Linked DNA regions of Homo sapiens: regions 1, 2, 4, 5 and 6 are each linked to region 3. Evidence: promoter capture Hi-C in 16 types of primary human blood cells and fetal thymus (Javierre and others, 2016). All regions are on one chromosome and are shown on one strand. The core of a region is centred on a gene start or on the middle of the fragment in contact, and the rest is flanking DNA. Distances in the headings are between cores, read along the strand shown. Region 1 has its middle 1.9 kb from the start of SNHG33. Region 2 holds the start of KLHL6-AS1 (KLHL6 antisense RNA 1). Region 3 holds the start of LAMP3 (lysosomal associated membrane protein 3). Region 4 has its middle 31 kb from the start of KLHL24. Region 5 has its middle 31 kb from the start of SNORA63E. Region 6 holds the start of KLHL24 (kelch like family member 24).

Region 1 (2,700 bases), core at 84-2,583, 280 kb before region 3:
GCTTTTAAAAATTCAAAATAAAAGTAAATTAAATAATTCAGAAAAAATAGCAAGGTAAACCTAAGAAAAGCCGAAAGAAGGAATTCGTAAGAATAAAAGAAGAAAATAAAAAATAGAAATGGAAATGGGAATACTAATAAGAGATTTGAAAAAGGCAACAATAGGGTGGTTGGCTCAAGAAAGAAAGAGGAGCACATCAAAATACAAAATGATAAAGGGGAAATAACCATAGATACAGGAAAACTTAAAAGCATTGCATGATCAGTCAGTTCTACATAATAAATTTGAAAACTTGAATGAAATGGACAAGATTCCAAGAAAATATAATTTACCAAAACATTCCAGAGATAGAAATTCTAAGTAGACCAATTACCATAGAAGAAATAGATGTTGGCCGGGCGCGGTGGCTCACGCCTGTAATCCCAGCACTTTGAGAGGCCGAGGCGGGCAGATCACCCGAGGTCAGGAGTTTGAAACCAGCCTGACCAACATGGAGAAACCCTGTCTCTACTAAAAATACAAAATTAGCCGGGCGTGGTGGCACATGCCTGTAATCCCAGCTACTCGGGAGGCTGAGGCAGAATTGCTTGAACCCGGGAGGCGGAGGTTGCGGTGAGCCGAGATTGTGCCATTGCACTCCAGCCTGGGCAACAAGAGCGAAACTCGGTCTCAAAATAAAGGAAAAAAAGAAATAGATGTTATTAGAGAACTGCATTTCTCCATAGCTGAATCCACAGAAGCACCAGGCCCAAATTATTTCATAGGATAATTCTGTGAAAACTTAAGGAACAGAGAGTTGGTTGCTGTTGATTCTGCCTTAAGCACAGAAAAAAGAGGAAGCATTTCAAATTCTATTCATGAAGTGAGCATAACATTTATACCAAAGTCTCATAAAACACCCATACAGCATATACGTATACATTGACCATAGAAATTCTTACTCATGGCCGGGCGCGGTGGCTCACGCCTGTATCCTAGCACTTTGGGAGGCCAAGGCAGACAGATCACCTGAGGTCAGGAGTTCAAGACTAGCTTGGCCAACATGGTGAAACCCTGTCTCTACTAAAAATACAAAAATTAGCCAGGCTTGGTGGTGTGTGCCTGTAATCTCAGCTACCCAGGAGGCTGAAGCAGGAGAATCGCTGGAACTCGGGAGGTGGAGGCTGCAGTGAGCCAAGATCACACCACTGCACTCCAGCCTGGGAGACAGAGCAAGACTCCATCTCTAAAAAATTAAAAAAAAAAAAATTCATACTCATGAATATTACTGGAAAAATCCTAAATCAAATAAAAATTATAATAAAGTATTTCTATTTTACTAGAAATAGCTGGGTACAGTGGCTTGTGCCTGTAGTCCCAGCTACTTGTGAGGCTGAAGTGGGAGGATCCCTTGAGCCCAGGAGCTCTAGGCCAGCCTGGGCAATGTAGTGAGACCTCCCATCTCTAAACATCGTTATAAAGAAAAAGAAAAATTTGTCATCTCCAAAATGCAAAAAAGGTATTTGTTAAAATTCAACATACATTCTTGATTTTTAAAAAAACTTGTAAAATTCAGCAAATGATATTGACACAACTGGGTAGCCATCTAGAAAAAGTAAAGTTGGATCCCAACTCAAACTCATACCTCACATCAAAATAAATTCCAGATAAAGATTAAATGGAAAAAATGAAGTATAAGTGTACTTCATTAAATCCTCATACATTCTGTAGCACAGGAAATTTTATAAAGCAATACCCAAATGCCGTAAGAGAGAAAATGATACATTCAATTACTTAAAAAAATTTAAAAGCAGCAAAAGTACATAAACTAAAAGTGGCAGACAGCAATCTGGGTGAAAAATTGCAACTCATGTCACAGACGATGGACTAATTTCCCTAATACATGAGAAAGTACCTATAATTCAACAGTATTAGCAGCTCATTAGAAAAATCAACACAATATCAACAGTTCACAGAAAACACCAATACAGAATAAAAGGGCTCAATTTTATTCAAAATAAAAAAATATATTTCATTTTAGAAAATATAAGTTTTAAAATATACTGTAATTGAGGAAGTAGCAGGAAAACAGGCATTATTATACTTTGCTGATGGAAGCAGAAATTGGCAATAATGCTATGAAGAACAGTTTAACAATAAGTACCCAAATTGCAAATTTACAAACCTTTGACCTAGCAATTCTATTTCTAGGAATTTATCTTACAGGTGTACTCCTACATGCTGAAATGACGGGTGACTAAGGAAATTCATTTCTAAATTCATATAGCAAAGATAAGAGAGTTTAAATGCCCATCAGTGCAAAACTGATGAATTATAGGATAGCCATACATACAATGGGTTACTATGCAGTCATTGAAAATAATTGAAATTCTAGAGTTTCTGCATCATGTATACTGATATGGAATTATCTGTAAAATATACTGAAGGATAAAAAAAAGCAAGATACAGAAATGCATATATTATGCTATAAGTTTTATTTAAAAAATCAAAAGGAAACATAGACACGATTACTTACATGTATACACAGGTGTTTCCTCTGGGAAGGAAAATGTGGTGGCTCAGAGAAAGAAGTAGGAGAAATTCCTTTTCATTGTATACTCTTTTGACTCAAATTTTGTACCACATGCATGCTTTAGCTATTGTAATGAACACATCCAAAGAAAAAAATCAGTGAAATTAAAGATATATCAATAAAAACTT
Region 2 (2,700 bases), core at 26-2,525, 390 kb before region 3:
TCTTCTGTTTTTGTTTGTTTTTTACTGTTTGTTTTCACTGTATTTTTCTCTTTGTTTTTGTCTCTTTTATTCTATTTTATGTATGTATTTATTTATTTCCTAGAGACAAGGTCTCCCTATGTTGCCCAGATAGTTTCAAACTCCTGGGCTCAAGGGATCCTCCTGACCCGGCCTCCCAAAGTGCTAGGATTACAAGCATGAGCCACCACACCTGGCCTCTGTCTTTTATTTTAGAGGCTATACTTAAATATCTGGTAGTCTTTGGATATCTGTTCCTATTTAAGAGTCAAGCACTAACATGGTGAAACCCCATCTCTACTAAAAATACAAAAAATTAGCTGGGCGTGGTGGCACATGCCTGTAGTCCCAGCTACTCGGGAGGCTGAAGCAGGAGAATTGCTTGAATCTGGGAGGCGGAGGTTGCAGTGAGCCAAGATCATGCCACTGCACTCCAGCCGGGGCAACAGAGCAAGACTCAGGTGTCCCGACCTGACGAGTGCCATTCAAGTTGGATTTAGCCATGAAATAAGTTACAAAAAACTTTACATTTATCAGCACTTTGGGAATTTTGAAACTACAGATAAGGGATTATAGATATATAATGCTGAAATATTTACTATCATATTGGTTCTGATCCACAATATTGGAAAATATTAAAAGTGGAAAATATAGGGCCTGACCCTGGTGTTACAATCATTGGCTTCACTTGAGTTCTCAAGTGTACCCACTGTGGCAGCAGCAATCCTCAACACATTTGCTGTTAGCCAGATTTTTAATACAGACCTACATGGCCTTAACTCATTCTTGTTTTTCTTGGCACTTATTCTCTTTTTTAAAATTTGTTTAAATTTTACTTTAAGTTCTGGGATACATGTGCAGAATGCGCGGGTTTGTTACATAGGTATACACGTGCCATGGTGGTTTGCTGCACCTATCAACCCATCATCTAGGTTTTAGGCCCTGAATGCATTAAGTATTTTTCCTAATGCTCTCCCTCCCCTTGTCCCCCACCCGCCGACAGGCCACGGGTTGTGTTGTTCCCCTACCTGTGTCCATGTGTTCTCATTGTTCAACTCCCACTTATGAGTGAGAACATGCGGTGTTTGGTTTTCTGTTGCTGTGTTAGTTTGCTGAGAATGATGGTTTCCAGCTTCATCCATGTCCCTGCAAAGGACATGAACTCATTCCTTTTTATGGCTGCACAGTATTCCATGGTGTATATGTTCTTGGCACTTATTCTATCACCTGGGCTTTCTGACTCTTTTCTGACATCTTACCCCATTATGGAGACAAAGCTCAGGATTACAACATCTACATGTGGCTTAAGAGTAGTCTCTTGCCCCACTTTTCTGCCATGCAGTAATTGGTTAATATGTAATAATGATTAACAAGTGCATAGATTGTGCTCACAATAACCTTCCCATTCCTGGCCTTATGCCTGATTTTTGTAGCTGGCGGGTAAAGTCCTCTCAACATAGCCTCAAGGAACCAGACCTAGAGACTGCGGTACAAGACAGGAGTGAGACAGGAATCCAGACAAGGATTCCAGGCAGCAGCATCAACAAAGGAGATTGCTAATGACTCAGCCTCAGCCTGGAAGCTTTTCTATGCATGAAGGAAGGGCCAGTCATGAGACAGGGCAGAGAAAAGCCTGATAACCCCTCCCCTCATCACTAGGACTCCCCTCCCTCTGCCAACCCTGGGAATCACAGCAGGGCTGCCCTCACAGGTCACTGTCACTTACAGAGTGTGCCATATTTTGCAGTGAGCTGGGCTTCCCAAATGGTGAGAACCAGTTTCTGGTTCTAGCCACAGTGAGGTCCCATATATTTTCAGAGCGCACTGTCTTTTCACCTTGCACACCCTGACCCTGCTTCCTTGTCTCTTTTTTAACCCTTTGATCCAGACTGATGTCCTAAGGCATGCTGGGTCCTTGCTGCTATGGGGGTCTGTCAGCTCAGCCCCCAGACATAAACTGGAATGAATGTTCCAACAGTATCCTGCCTGTGCATGTGTGTATGAGCACAAGGAGGCTCTGATTTTTACATTTCCTCCTCATTTTCAGCTTATGTAGCCTACACTAGCAAAAGAGTCTTGGGGAGCTGAGGGGTCATAGGAAATGACCTGTTAGCCACATTTCTGTTCTCTGTGAAGAGGCCTGTTTTCAGTTTAGACATCATGGGGAAACCACTCTTCCCATCAAAGTGAGCTCCCCCAAGGATGAAATGGACACCATGCTATCTACTTGATATTATGAAGACTGAATGAAATAAAAAGAATCCAGCAAAGTGCCTGAAAAAATGTAGGCCGTCCATATTCCAAACTGGGAAAAAATGCTTAATGCAAAGATTACCACGTCACGTATAAAAACAAAATACTGGAAGCAACCTAAATGTCCACAGTGAGAGAATGATTTTCATATTATGCCTCTGTTGAAATTGGTAGCAATATAATAAATAGTCATTATGAAAAGCATGGAGCACCGTAGGAAAAATATTATAATGAAAACAGGGGGCAAAGCAAGATGCAAAATTGCATGTAAACTATGGAAAGATATGCATGTGAGAAAAGGTAGACAAATAACACCAAAATGAAAACTGTTAACATTATCAGAAAGCCCCATAATCCCTTACCCAAAAATCTGGGAGCCAGATGTGCTTTGCCATTCAGAATTCTTTGGATATTAGCATATCTTAAATG
Region 3 (2,700 bases), core at 90-2,589:
GGAGAATCGCCTGAACCCAAGTTTGCAGTGAGCCGAGATCACGCCATTGCCCTCCAGCCTGGGCGACAGAGTGAGACCCTGTCTCAAAAACAAAAACAAAAACAAACAAACAAAAACAAAGAAAGAAAAAGAAAAAAGAAAATAAAAAAACACACTGGGAGTGGGCATTATTATGTCCGTTTTACAGCTGAAGAATCCAAGGCTCCTAGAGGTTCCCCGACGCCGCACGCCGGGGAGTCGGCAGCGCGAGCTCCCAGCCAGACCTAGCGCCTCTGGGCTGTGCTCCTGTTGCTTCCCGCAAACCGCGGTCCTGGCGAGGCCTGGGCGTGGAGCGCGGCTGCCGCAGACTCCCTGGGAAGACATGGAGTCAGGGTGCTTAGGGGTTTTTAGGCTCCTGCTCGCCTAGTGGCTGGCTTTCTCCCGGCTGAGAAGCGTCTCTGGGTTCCCAGAAAGGTACCCGAGCTGTTAGAAAAGAGGAGACCCTGGGCCGGGCGCAGTGGCTCACGCCTGTAATCCCAACACTTTGGGAGGCCGAGGCGGGCGGATCACAAGGTCAGGAGATCGAGACCAGCCTGGCCAACAGGGTGAAACCCCGTCTCTACTAAAATACAAAAATTAGCTGGGCGTGGTGGCGGGCGCCTGTAACCCCAGCTACTCGGGAGGCTGCGGCAGGAGAATCGCTTGAACCAGGGCAGTGAGCCGAGATCCCGCCACTGCACTCCAGCCTGGCGACAGAGCGAGACTTTGTCTCAAAAAACAAAACAAAACAAAACAAAACAAAAGAAATAAAAAGAAAAGAAATAAAAGAGGAGACCCTGGCCGGGCTCGGTGGCTCACGTCTATAATCCCAGCACTTTGGGAGGTCGAGGCGGGCGAATCACGAGGTCAGGAGCTCGAGACCAGCCTGGCCAATATGGTGACACCCCGTCTCTACTAAAAATACAAAAATTAGCCGGGTGTGGTGGTGCATGCCTGTAATCCCAGCTACTCGGGAGGCTGAGGCAGAAGAATCGCTTGAACCCGGGAGGCAGAGGTTGTAGTGAGCCGAGATCGCGCCACTGCACTCCACCCTGGGCGACAGAGCGAGACTTCGTCTCAAAAAGAAAAGAAAAAGAAAGGAGGAGACCCAGGGTATGAGCGGAGGAGGCCGGCGCTGCCGGGACCACGCGCGTGCGGTAAACGGTCCCAGAGGCCCGGGCCCCGGCGGCTGCGCCGAGTCCCCGCCCCTCCCTGCTCCGTAGGGGTAGGAGGGGGCCGGCGGAGTTTCCCTCCCCGCCCAGCGGCCCTGGGCGGGCTTTTCGGCTGCTTCTCATAAGCAGGTGGTTTCGTTTCTCCGGCACAGGTAGGTTTCTCTGGCACCGATTCGGGGCCTGCCCGGACTTCGCCGCACGCTGCAGAACCTCGCCCAGCGCCCACCATGCCCCGGCAGCTCAGCGCGGCGGCCGCGCTCTTCGCGTCCCTGGCCGGTGAGTGGCCCTCAGCGCTTCCCGCGGTGGCCCTGACGTGTCGGTCCCCTTTCATCTAAACGCACTCTGGAGTCCCGGGCGCCACAGGACGGGCTGCGGGTAGGGAGGTGTGGCGCGTCCAAGGGCTTCCCAGCTGGAACTTGTTTTCCGTGAGTTACTCAGAGCAGGTGTCAACCCCAAAGACAGTGACACTGTCCCTCGCTTCCAAAAGGGTTCTGGACACCTTCTCAGGGAGAGTTTGTAGAGGTCACTCGGATTTAAGAGATGGAGACCTGAGCTAGGGTTTAGGAATGGGAGTCTTGGCTTTGTTATCCGGGAAAAGCGCTCCTGTCTTGCTTTTCCTTGCATCAGATGTGGTCTGACAGATTGTGCCATTTCAGAAAGGTGTAGGAAGAGTGTCAAAGACTTTTTTTTTTTTAAATGATCATTGTACTTCCCATCCCAGATGCCGTCTGGGACGCTGAGTTTATGATTATTTTATGATCCGACCCTCCGCTTTCTCCAGAGCTTTTCCCCCTAGACATTGAGTCCTCGGGTGCTGTGGTGTTGTCCCTGTGATGAAGTTTCCTGGTTACTCGAACGTCATGAGAGAACTGTCTCCGTCCCTACCGCCCGGCTAACATGCTCAAGCAGGGGGCGCGGTGGCCCTTGCTTGTAACATGAATGCTAGGAATGTTAGGGAAGAGGTGAGAAGGGTCGTGCCAGCTGCCCTTGCCTAGGCAGTTCTCCCCTGCGCCACACTTTCACACTTACAGTTTCAGGTTCTTTTAGGGGACAGAAGAGGAAGTCATCATCACGCTCCACAGGGCAAGCTATTAAAAAAGCAAAACAATCTCAGCCTAGCGGTAACCCACAGTGACCTGTATGTGAGCGCTCCTTGAATGGATGGATAGGCTCAGAAACACAATGGTATTGACAGGCCAGGCGTGGTGGCTCACACCTGCAATCCCAGCACTTTGGGAGGCTGAGGCCGGCGGATCACTTGAGGTCAGGAGTTCGAGACTAGCCTGGCCACCGGTGAAACCCCGCCTCTACTAAAAATACAGAAATTAGCCGGGCATGGTTGTGGGCGCCTGTAATCCCAGGTACTCGGGAGACTGAGGCAGGAGAATCACTTGAACCCAAGAGGCGGAGGTTGCAGTAAGCCAAGATCATGCCACTGCACTCCAACCTAGGTAACAGTGAGACTCTGTCTCAAAAAAAATAAATAAATAAAAATAAAAATACAGTGAGT
Region 4 (2,700 bases), core at 63-2,562, 440 kb before region 3:
CTGTCACTCCCCCACTTCTGCATCTTGTAATCCCATTATACCACTTTATATTGCCCTACAGGTCACTGAAACTCTGATCAGTTTTTTCAATCTTTTTTCTTTCTGTGCTTTTCTCTCTGGATAGTTTCTATTTCTATGCCTCCAAGTTCACTGATCTTTTCTTCTGTACTGCCTAAATTGTTGTTTAACCCTTTCAGTAATTTTTTTTTTTGAGACGGAGTCTTGCTCTGTCGCCCAGGTTGGAGTGCAGTGGCACGATCTCGGCTCACTGCAAGCTCTGCCTCCCGGGTTCACGCCATTCTCCTGCCTCAGCCTCCCGAGTAGCTGGGACTACAGGCGCCTGCCACCAGGCCCGGCTAACTTTTTGTATTTTTAGTAGAGACGGGGTTTCACCGTGTTAGCCAGGATGGTGTCGCTCTCCTGACCTCGTGATCTGCCCGCCTCGGCCTCCCAAAGTGCTGGGATTACAGGCATGAGCGACCGCAGCCGGCCAAATTTTGTATTTCAAACATTATATTTTCATCTCTGGGATTTCCATTTGGCGCTTATCTATATCTCCCATTTCTCTCTGCATTACATTCATTTTTCTTTTAAATACTTGAACATAGCTACAATAGTTGTTTTTGCTTTTGGGTTTTTTTTTGTTTTTTTTTTTTTTTGTTTTTTTTGCTAATTTCATTACCTCTGTCATTTCTGAATTTGATTTTTCTTCTAGTCATGGATCACTTCTTAAAATTAAAAAAAAAACTTCTTTGTATGTCTTGTAATTGTATTTTAGGACAGGGTCTTGCTATGTTGTCTAGGCTAGATTAGAACTCCCAGCTCAAGCAACCTTCCAGCTTCAGCCTCCTAAGTAGCTGGGAACAGGTGCACACAACCATTCTTGCCTACTCTGGTGATTTTTGATTGGATGCTGGACATTTCAACATTTGTTGAGTGCTCAATTTTGCTTTTTTCCTTTTAAATATGTTAGACTTTATTCTGGCAGACAATTTATTAGAAAATCAGTTTGATCTGTCTGAAGCTTGTTTTTAAGTTTTGTTATTGTAGGTCTAGAGTATCCTTTACTCTGGGACTAGGGTAGTCCTACAAGCAAGGTGTGGTGCTTCTGGGGTCTTTACTGAATGCCCCAGGTGCTTAATACAGTTTCTTCTTTCTGGCTGATCAGAACTCAAATGTCTCCTAGGTCTGGGTGAACTCTGGGAATTTTTCAGCTTGCAGCTACTGGTAATAACTTCCCAGGATTTTTGTGAGGATTAAATTAAATAATGCATATGAAGAGTATTGCAGGGGATTATGATTATGAAGAGATACATAAGGGGCTTCTGGGGTGCTGGCAATATATTTTTTGATCTGGGTGGTGGTTACATGTATGTTCACTTTATAACTATTTGTTAAACTGAATTTTTTATGTGTATGTTATACATCACAATAAAAATCAAAAGAAAACAAAGAATATAACATACTGCTGGCATATAGTAGATGCTCAATAAATGTAGCCAGCCTGATTACATGAGATAAGAGATGTAAAATAGCTGGCACAGAATCCAGCACACAGGGTTGGGGGAGAATCCTGGATAATTTCCTGTAAGTAAGCTTTTTATGGAAGTATAACCTAATAAAGAGAAATAAACAGAGCATAAGCACATAGCTCCATACATTTTTCCAAAACAGAACACACCCAAGTAACCAGTGACCAGGTCAAGAAATAGAACTTAATTGGTTCTTAATTGTTAATGTAAAACAATATGGAATGGGATTTTCCTGATGTCTCATAATTTTGGTTAAATTCTCAAAGCTGATAAGAATTCCTCTTTATTTCTAAAGAATGATTTTAGATATCCCCTCAAGGTTGTCTAAAAAATGGCAGAACTGGTCCTGTGACTGTCAGCCTCTGTCATCCACCTTCAGCCTCATAGAAGCCTAGGAGTTCTAAGGGTGCAAGAAGCATAGAAGCCTAGGAGTTCTAAGGGTGCAAGAAGCATAGAAGTCTAGGAGTTCTAAGCAAGCAATCTTACAGATAACAGATTGCTTGCCTAGGAGCAGGGTAGGAGATGTGCTCAAGTGATGGGCTGAGAAGGAATCACAGCCCCTGTGTTTCCATGGAGCCAGGGCTGAAAGCTAAGAGAGTTCTTGGGAAGCCTGACATGCAGACTTTGGAGTTTATGGGGTTGGGGAGGTGTTGTGGTTGAATGGTGTGGTGTTGGAGTTAGTTATACTAAACACAGAGGCCAATGTTTGCTTCCTACCTAGAAAACCATTAAGGCAAGAGGAAGGCTAGAGAAGACCATGATGGCATGGTAAGGAGTGAGAGCCACTGTTTGGTGGGGCAAAGTTATATGAATTTCCTGGCAGAGTGAACTCTGCAACAGGCAGTGAGATTTCAGCTCCCTCGACGGGGACCTCTGTCATAGGGCATCCATCTTCTTGAATTCTTTTTTTTTGAGATGGAGTCTTGTTCTGTCACCCAGGCTGGAGTGCAGTGGCGCCATCTTGGCTCACTGCAACCTCTGCCTCCTGGATTCAAGCAGTTCTCCTGCCTCAGCCTCCGGAGTAGCTGGGACTACAGGCACGCGCCACCACCCGCGCCACCACTCCCAGCTGATTTTTGTATTTTTAGTAGAGACGGGGTTTCACCATGTTGGCCAGGATGGTTTCGATCTCTTGACCTCGTGATCCCCCCGCCTCAGCCTCCCAAGG
Region 5 (2,700 bases), core at 194-2,693, 320 kb before region 3:
TGCTAGCTGGCAGTTCTCGAAGCTAGGATCCTCTCTCCTTCCTGATAATTACCTTGAGGGGAATGGCTTTCAGGTCCTTGAGAAAGACACCCCTGAGCTGTAGGCAACACATACATAGTAGCTCAGAGCAACAGAGGAAGGATTCACAATGGTAAGCCTCCTTTTTTTAGTAAATGCTCTAAAAAAGCAAGATCAGGGGCCTGTTGTCAGATGTTGGTGGAACAAACTCAATTCTTTTGACAGCCTTAAGCTTTCCCAGACAGCAACTCAAAAGGGGGCTGGGCCATCCCAGGGACGTGGCCTCAGGCTGCTAGAAGCCATGCGATGGTTTGGTGAAGTCTCTGAGCGCAGGGTATGAGTGGAGTGTTGGTACTGAGAGTTTCAGTGTCCCAGGTATACTTACCTTATGAAACAGATACAGTTAAAAGAACAGGTGTGCCCACCACCTGCGCTGCTGTTGGCAGCATTTTAAAAGAGAACTGACCATTTTCTACAATCCACCACAGGCCCACTGTGCGAGGCCAGGAGTGCCGAAGCCCCTTCTTCTAGAATCTGCTGAAGGCAACTAAAGAGAAAAATAGTACTAAAGCTTCTTTGACCCATACAGGCCAGAGCAGTGCTTTCAAACTTTCTTGAACATGTATCACAATAAGAAACACATTTTCTGTATTTCCTATTCTATTTTTTTCTTAAAATGCTGTTCACAAGCCACCAAATTAATTTCATCACCCACTAAATGGGTCACAGGTCACAACCCATATCTGAAAGGTACAAGGCTGGAGGGCACTGACCTGGGCAGACAGGGCAGGGGTGAGGGGAGATGAGGGTGGCAAAGCCTGGTGTATTAGTCCATTTTCATATGCTGTGAAGAAATACCCGAGACTAGGTAATTTATAAAGGAAAGAGGTTTAATGGACTCACAGTTCCACATGGCTGGGGAGGCCTCACAATCATGGCAGGAGGTGAAGGAGGAACAAAGACATGTCTTACATGGCAGCAGGAAGGAGTGCCTGTGCAGGGGAACTGCCCTTTATAAAACCATCAGATCTTGTGAGACTTACTCACTATCACGAGAACAGCACGGGAAAAACCTACCCCCATTATTCAATTACCTCCCACCAGGTCTCTCCCATGACACCTGAGGATTATGGAGCCACAATTCAAGATGAGATTTGGGTGGGGACACAGCCAAACCATATCATCTTGATTTAACAAAGCGGCAATACACAGAAGGCAGAGGGAAAACCTGACTGCGCAGAGAAATCTGTAAGTCTGGCCTTAGATAAACAGGATTTTTGTTGGTGAAATTCTGTTCTTTGTTTTTTTGTTAGTTTGTTTGTTTTGTTGAGTTTTTTGAGGTTTTTTTTTGAGTTTTTTGAGTTTTTTTGTTAGTTTGTTTTTTTGAGTTTGTTTGTTTTTTTCTGTCGCCCAGGCCGGAATGCAATGGTGAGATCTCAGCTCACTGCAACCTCCACCTCCTGGATTCAAGCAATTCTCCTACCTCGGCCTCCTGAGTAGCGGGGATTACAGGCACCTGCCACTACGCCCAGCTAATTTTTGTATTTTTAGTAGAGACAGGGTTTTGCCATGTTGGTCAGGCTGGTCTCGAACTCCTGGCCTCAGGTGATCCGCCTCCGCCTGCCTTGGCCTCCCAAAGTGCTGGGATTACAGACATGAGCCACTATGCCTGGCCGAAATTCTATTCTTTCATAGTAAAAATGTAGTAATAGGAGCATCTATTGAGTAATTTCCCTGAAACATGAGACCAAGCCAGAAATAGAAAAAAAAAAAAAAAAGAAAAAGATTAGGACAGTGACAAAACTAGTCTAGGAAGAAATGCTGAGGTTTTTAATTGTCAAAGTGCATTCTGGTAGAATGTCACATTCCGGGAAAAGGTCACTGGAGGAATCTGTAGGAAAAATGATGCCTTAGATTTTGTTCTGAGTTCTAAGTAGACATTAGTGAAAGAAGGAATGGGGTGAGTCTTTGTGAAACAATGCAACAAATATTCATTGAGCGCCTACTACGTGCCAGGCATGATTTCTGTCCATCTGTGAACAAAACAAAGCCTCTGCTCACATGAGCTAACATTCTAGTAGAGAGAGACAGGCAAGAATCAAACAAGCATATAATATAATGACAAGTAGAGATAAATGTCCAAAGAAAGTAACTCAGGGGAAGGGTGATGCATGCTACTTGAGCTAGGATGAACACAGCCAACCTTTCTGATAGAGACACTTAAACAGAGGCTTGAGTGAAGAGAGCATGAGAGGCCTGAGAGTATCTGGGGAAGCTTACTCCAGGCAGAGGGAAGAGCTAATGAGGCTCTGAGGTGGGAGGCTTCTGTGTATTTAAGGAACAGTCATGGCTGGGCACGGTGGCTCATGCCTGTAATCCCAGCACTTTGGCAGGCCAGGATGGGCAGGTCATTTGAGGTCAGGAGTTCGCGACCAGCTTGGCCAACATGGTGAAACCCTGTCTGAACTAAAAATACACAAAAATTTAGCTGGTCATTGTGGCATCCCTGTAGTCCCAGCTACTTGGGAGGCTGAGGCAGGAGGATCGCTTGAACATGGGAGGCAGAGCTTGTAGTGAGCCGAGATTGCGCCACTGCACTCCAGCCTGGGTGACGGAGTGAGACTCCATCTCAAAAATAAATAAATAAATAAGTAAGGAACAGTCAAGAGGCCTGTGTAGCCG
Region 6 (2,700 bases), core at 123-2,622, 470 kb before region 3:
GATAACGCGACACTAGTTAAAGGGTGTTAATTTTCCGGTCCTCGGAGGGCAGGCCACGGTAGCCGATCTCTGCGTGCCCAGAACTGCCTGCAGGATCAGGCAGCAGCAGCGGCGGCGGCGGCCACCGAGGCTACCAGCCGCCCGCAGCAGGGGCGGGAGCGCGCGCCTCCCGCACCCGCGCCACCCGGCTCCACTCGGGCCGCAGCTGCAAAAGCAGCGACAGCGCGCGCTCCCGCGCGTCCTCCAGATCACCTTCAAGGGGGCGGGAAGAATGGCCCAGGGCAGGCCCACCTAGTGACAATAAAAACTCGCCAATAAAAACTCGAACTCTCCCTCGGGTACCGCCCACAAGCTGCCGCAGGCGCCCAATCCCCGCCGCGTTAACAGTCTTCACCCGGGGTGTCCAGAACTTGAGGGCGGGTCCATTAGGAACTAAATTAAGAAACTGAGTCCTGGAGTGGTAAGAAGGTGGGGAGGTTAGGCGGGGACTGCGCCGGCGGAACGCCCGCTCCCCCGCCCGCCCCGGCTCCCCGGGGACGGCCGCAGCGGGCCGGGTGTCGCGATCGTGGTAAACAAAGGCTCGCAGGGGACGGGGGCGGGGGTAACGGTCAGGTGACAGTGCCGAGTGCATTTCGCAATCGCTTTAATGGGGCTTCACGGGCCCGCGGCCCTGGGGACCCCACCTTGACCCCGTCATTCCTCCCGGACAGAACCGACGGTCGTCCCACCAAACAAGAAGGCTGGATTTGAGGCGGTCGCACTCCCCCGGGCTTCCTGAAATAAAAAGCAGCGCCCCGTTCGCAGCCCATCGGCAACAAGCAGCACCCGTCTGCCCAGCCGCCTCCCCCGGCGGCGCCCGGCCCCGCGGCGACTAGCCTACCGCACCTGCGGCTACCCCCAGTCCCGGCAACCACCCCGCCCTAGCCAGGCCGCACCAGCCGCGCCGCGGTTCCGGGCCGTAGTGCCAGGAGGCGCGCGCGCCCTCCCTCAGGGCTGTAGCTACCAAGCGGGGGAGGAAGACCCCCCAGGTGAACCCTGGAGGCCCCTCGCCTCAGAAAGGGGCCCTGTAGCCCAGCTGCAGCCTCTCCGCAGACCGCCAGTCTGGCTCTGAGAGGCCGGCCGCCGCTGGCTGCCCTCCCGCAGACACCCCGGTGGTCAGGACCGCCGTCGCCCCTCCGCCCCCGAGGACTCAGACTCTGACCGGTTCCTCGCCTTTCGGCCGGTCCCGGAGCTGTCACCCCCGGTACCTCTCGGCGAACACTGGAAGCAGCCAGCAGTGGCTAACCCCGCGGTCCCTCAGCGGCGGGCGGCGCAGCGCACTCTCCAGCGCCGGCGTCTCCTCCAGCCACCAGTCTCTGCCGCAGCTCACAACAAAGGAAACATGTGACCGTCCGGGCCAAAACACTGAGCGTCAGCGAACCCTGGCCAATCCGGGTGGGCGTCCTCCGCCCCGGGGAACCCTGGGAGATGTAGTTCACGCTTCCCGGTGGCCTCCGGGGCCACCTGGGGCTCCCGCCGTGGGGTGGGTGTCGGGTGCCCAAGAGGACGAGACCCACCCAAAGGGCTGCTGACTCAAAAACACCTTGTTTTAAGCAGAGACAGTTAAAAAAATGCCTCTTGTGTAAGGAGCCGAGTGAGAAGCCAGAGTCGTTTCTTTCCTTCCCTCAAAGGCCCCTGCCACGTCCCAAGGAAAAAGCCCGCGATCAGCCCTTCGACTTTAAAGCTTGGGTCGAAGCTTAGAGAGCTTTTTATTTGACCCTTTGATAGACAATCGGAAATCAGGCCTGAGGGCCTGCAGGGTGGACGAGACTAAAACCCCAGTCCTTAGAAGGAGCAAGGAAAACCACCTCTTTTTTTTTGATAAAGCTGTTACTGTCCCTGGTATCAAATCCTAGGTTACCTTTTTATTTTAAACGCACATGCACGTCGACCAAAGCTGTCACAAATCCCTGTTTTCCAAGGTAGATGGAGTTCCTAAAGGACATTGTGTTGTCGTTTTGTGTCTGCAAGCTTTTTGTTTTGTTTCGTTTTGAGACAGAGTTTCGCTCTGCCACTCAGGGTGGAGTGCAGTGGCGCAATCTCGGCCCACTGCAACCTCTGCCTCCCGGGTTCAGGCGATTCTCCCGCCTTAGCCTCCCGAGTAGCTGAGACTACAGGTGCCCGCCACCACGCCCAGGTAATGTTTTGTATTTTTAGTAGAGGCTGTGTTAGCCAGGCTGGTCTCGAACTTCTGGCCTCAAGTGATCCGCCTGCCTTGGCCTCCCACAGTGCTAGGATTACAGGCATGAGCCACTGCGCCCCGCCTGCAGGTATTCTTTTAAAGGATGATTGCAACCATTTAACTAGTTTTTGGTTTCTGATACCAAATTTAAAAATCTCTATCTTCTACATGTCATGAATACCGTCATGCCTCTATTAAATTAGGCGTTGTGTTCTGATGACCAGAGGCGGAAATAATATGGAAGGCCTATATACAGGCCTTTTAAACATACTTTTTAGGCCTCTTTTCCATCTCTTATTCAATTATTTGAGCTATTTCTTCTGGTATTTATATATTTCCAAATAATGTATGACTATTTCCTATTAAGGAAGCTATCCTTCTCATAATCTGGTTAAATCATTAATGTTTACGCTAATGAGACCATGTATTTATTATTCATTGTTGAGACAAATCGTATACAATTTCCCATCTTGTATGGC

The links. The method cuts DNA at HindIII sites, captures the fragments that hold promoters and counts their contacts. A CHiCAGO score of 5 or more calls a contact.
Region 1: a contact is called between a fragment that was not itself captured here and the fragment with the promoter of LAMP3 in region 3, in 3 of 17 cell types (erythroblasts, M1 macrophages and M2 macrophages). The highest score is 8.0, in erythroblasts.
Region 2: the fragment with the promoter of KLHL6-AS1 here is called in contact with the fragment with the promoter of LAMP3 in region 3 in 15 of 17 cell types (fetal thymus, M1 macrophages, activated CD4 T cells and 12 more); the score reaches 12.7 in fetal thymus.
Region 4: a contact is called between a fragment that was not itself captured here and the fragment with the promoter of LAMP3 in region 3, in 1 of 17 cell types (M2 macrophages). The highest score is 5.7, in M2 macrophages.
Region 5: a fragment that was not itself captured here is called in contact with the fragment with the promoter of LAMP3 in region 3 in 1 of 17 cell types (M2 macrophages); the score reaches 5.1 in M2 macrophages.
Region 6: a contact is called between the fragment with the promoter of KLHL24 here and the fragment with the promoter of LAMP3 in region 3, in 1 of 17 cell types (activated CD4 T cells). The highest score is 5.3, in activated CD4 T cells.

Annotation. Positions count from the first base shown.
Region 1 is chr3:183,444,349-183,447,048 of GRCh38, reverse strand. No RefSeq gene overlaps it. Among named protein-coding and RNA genes, the nearest start is that of SNHG33, 1.9 kb to the left of the region's middle. The HindIII fragment of the contact is 8,371 bases long and covers 1-2,700 here.
Region 2 is chr3:183,547,310-183,550,009 of GRCh38, reverse strand. It overlaps KLHL6-AS1 (KLHL6 antisense RNA 1), which reads right to left and starts at 1,275. Exons shown (of 2, transcript NR_046687.1): 1 at 1,047-1,275. All of the region lies in intron 1 of KLHL6 (kelch like family member 6), which reads left to right. The HindIII fragment of the contact is 1,687 bases long and covers 1-1,602 here.
Region 3 is chr3:183,161,373-183,164,072 of GRCh38, reverse strand. LAMP3 (lysosomal associated membrane protein 3) reads left to right here and starts at 1,339. Exons shown (of 6, transcript NM_014398.4): 1 at 1,339-1,466. The coding sequence starts at 1,418. RefSeq lists a silencer at 1,129-1,338 and an enhancer at 1,951-2,160. The HindIII fragment of the contact is 7,998 bases long and covers 1-2,700 here.
Region 4 is chr3:183,603,533-183,606,232 of GRCh38, reverse strand. No RefSeq gene overlaps it. Among named protein-coding and RNA genes, the nearest start is that of KLHL24, 31 kb to the left of the region's middle. The HindIII fragment of the contact is 572 bases long and covers 1,027-1,598 here.
Region 5 is chr3:183,482,965-183,485,664 of GRCh38, reverse strand. No RefSeq gene overlaps it. Among named protein-coding and RNA genes, the nearest start is that of SNORA63E, 31 kb to the right of the region's middle. The HindIII fragment of the contact is 1,704 bases long and covers 592-2,295 here.
Region 6 is chr3:183,634,295-183,636,994 of GRCh38, reverse strand. It overlaps KLHL24 (kelch like family member 24), which reads right to left and starts at 1,372. Exons shown (of 8, transcript NM_017644.3): 1 at 1,202-1,372. It overlaps LOC107986162 (a long non-coding RNA gene), which reads left to right and starts at 386. Exons shown (of 2, transcript XR_001741042.2): 1 at 386-460; 2 at 711-2,700. RefSeq lists silencers at 1-296, 347-666, 857-926, 937-1,046 and an enhancer at 1,467-1,526. The HindIII fragment of the contact is 5,143 bases long and covers 1-1,725 here.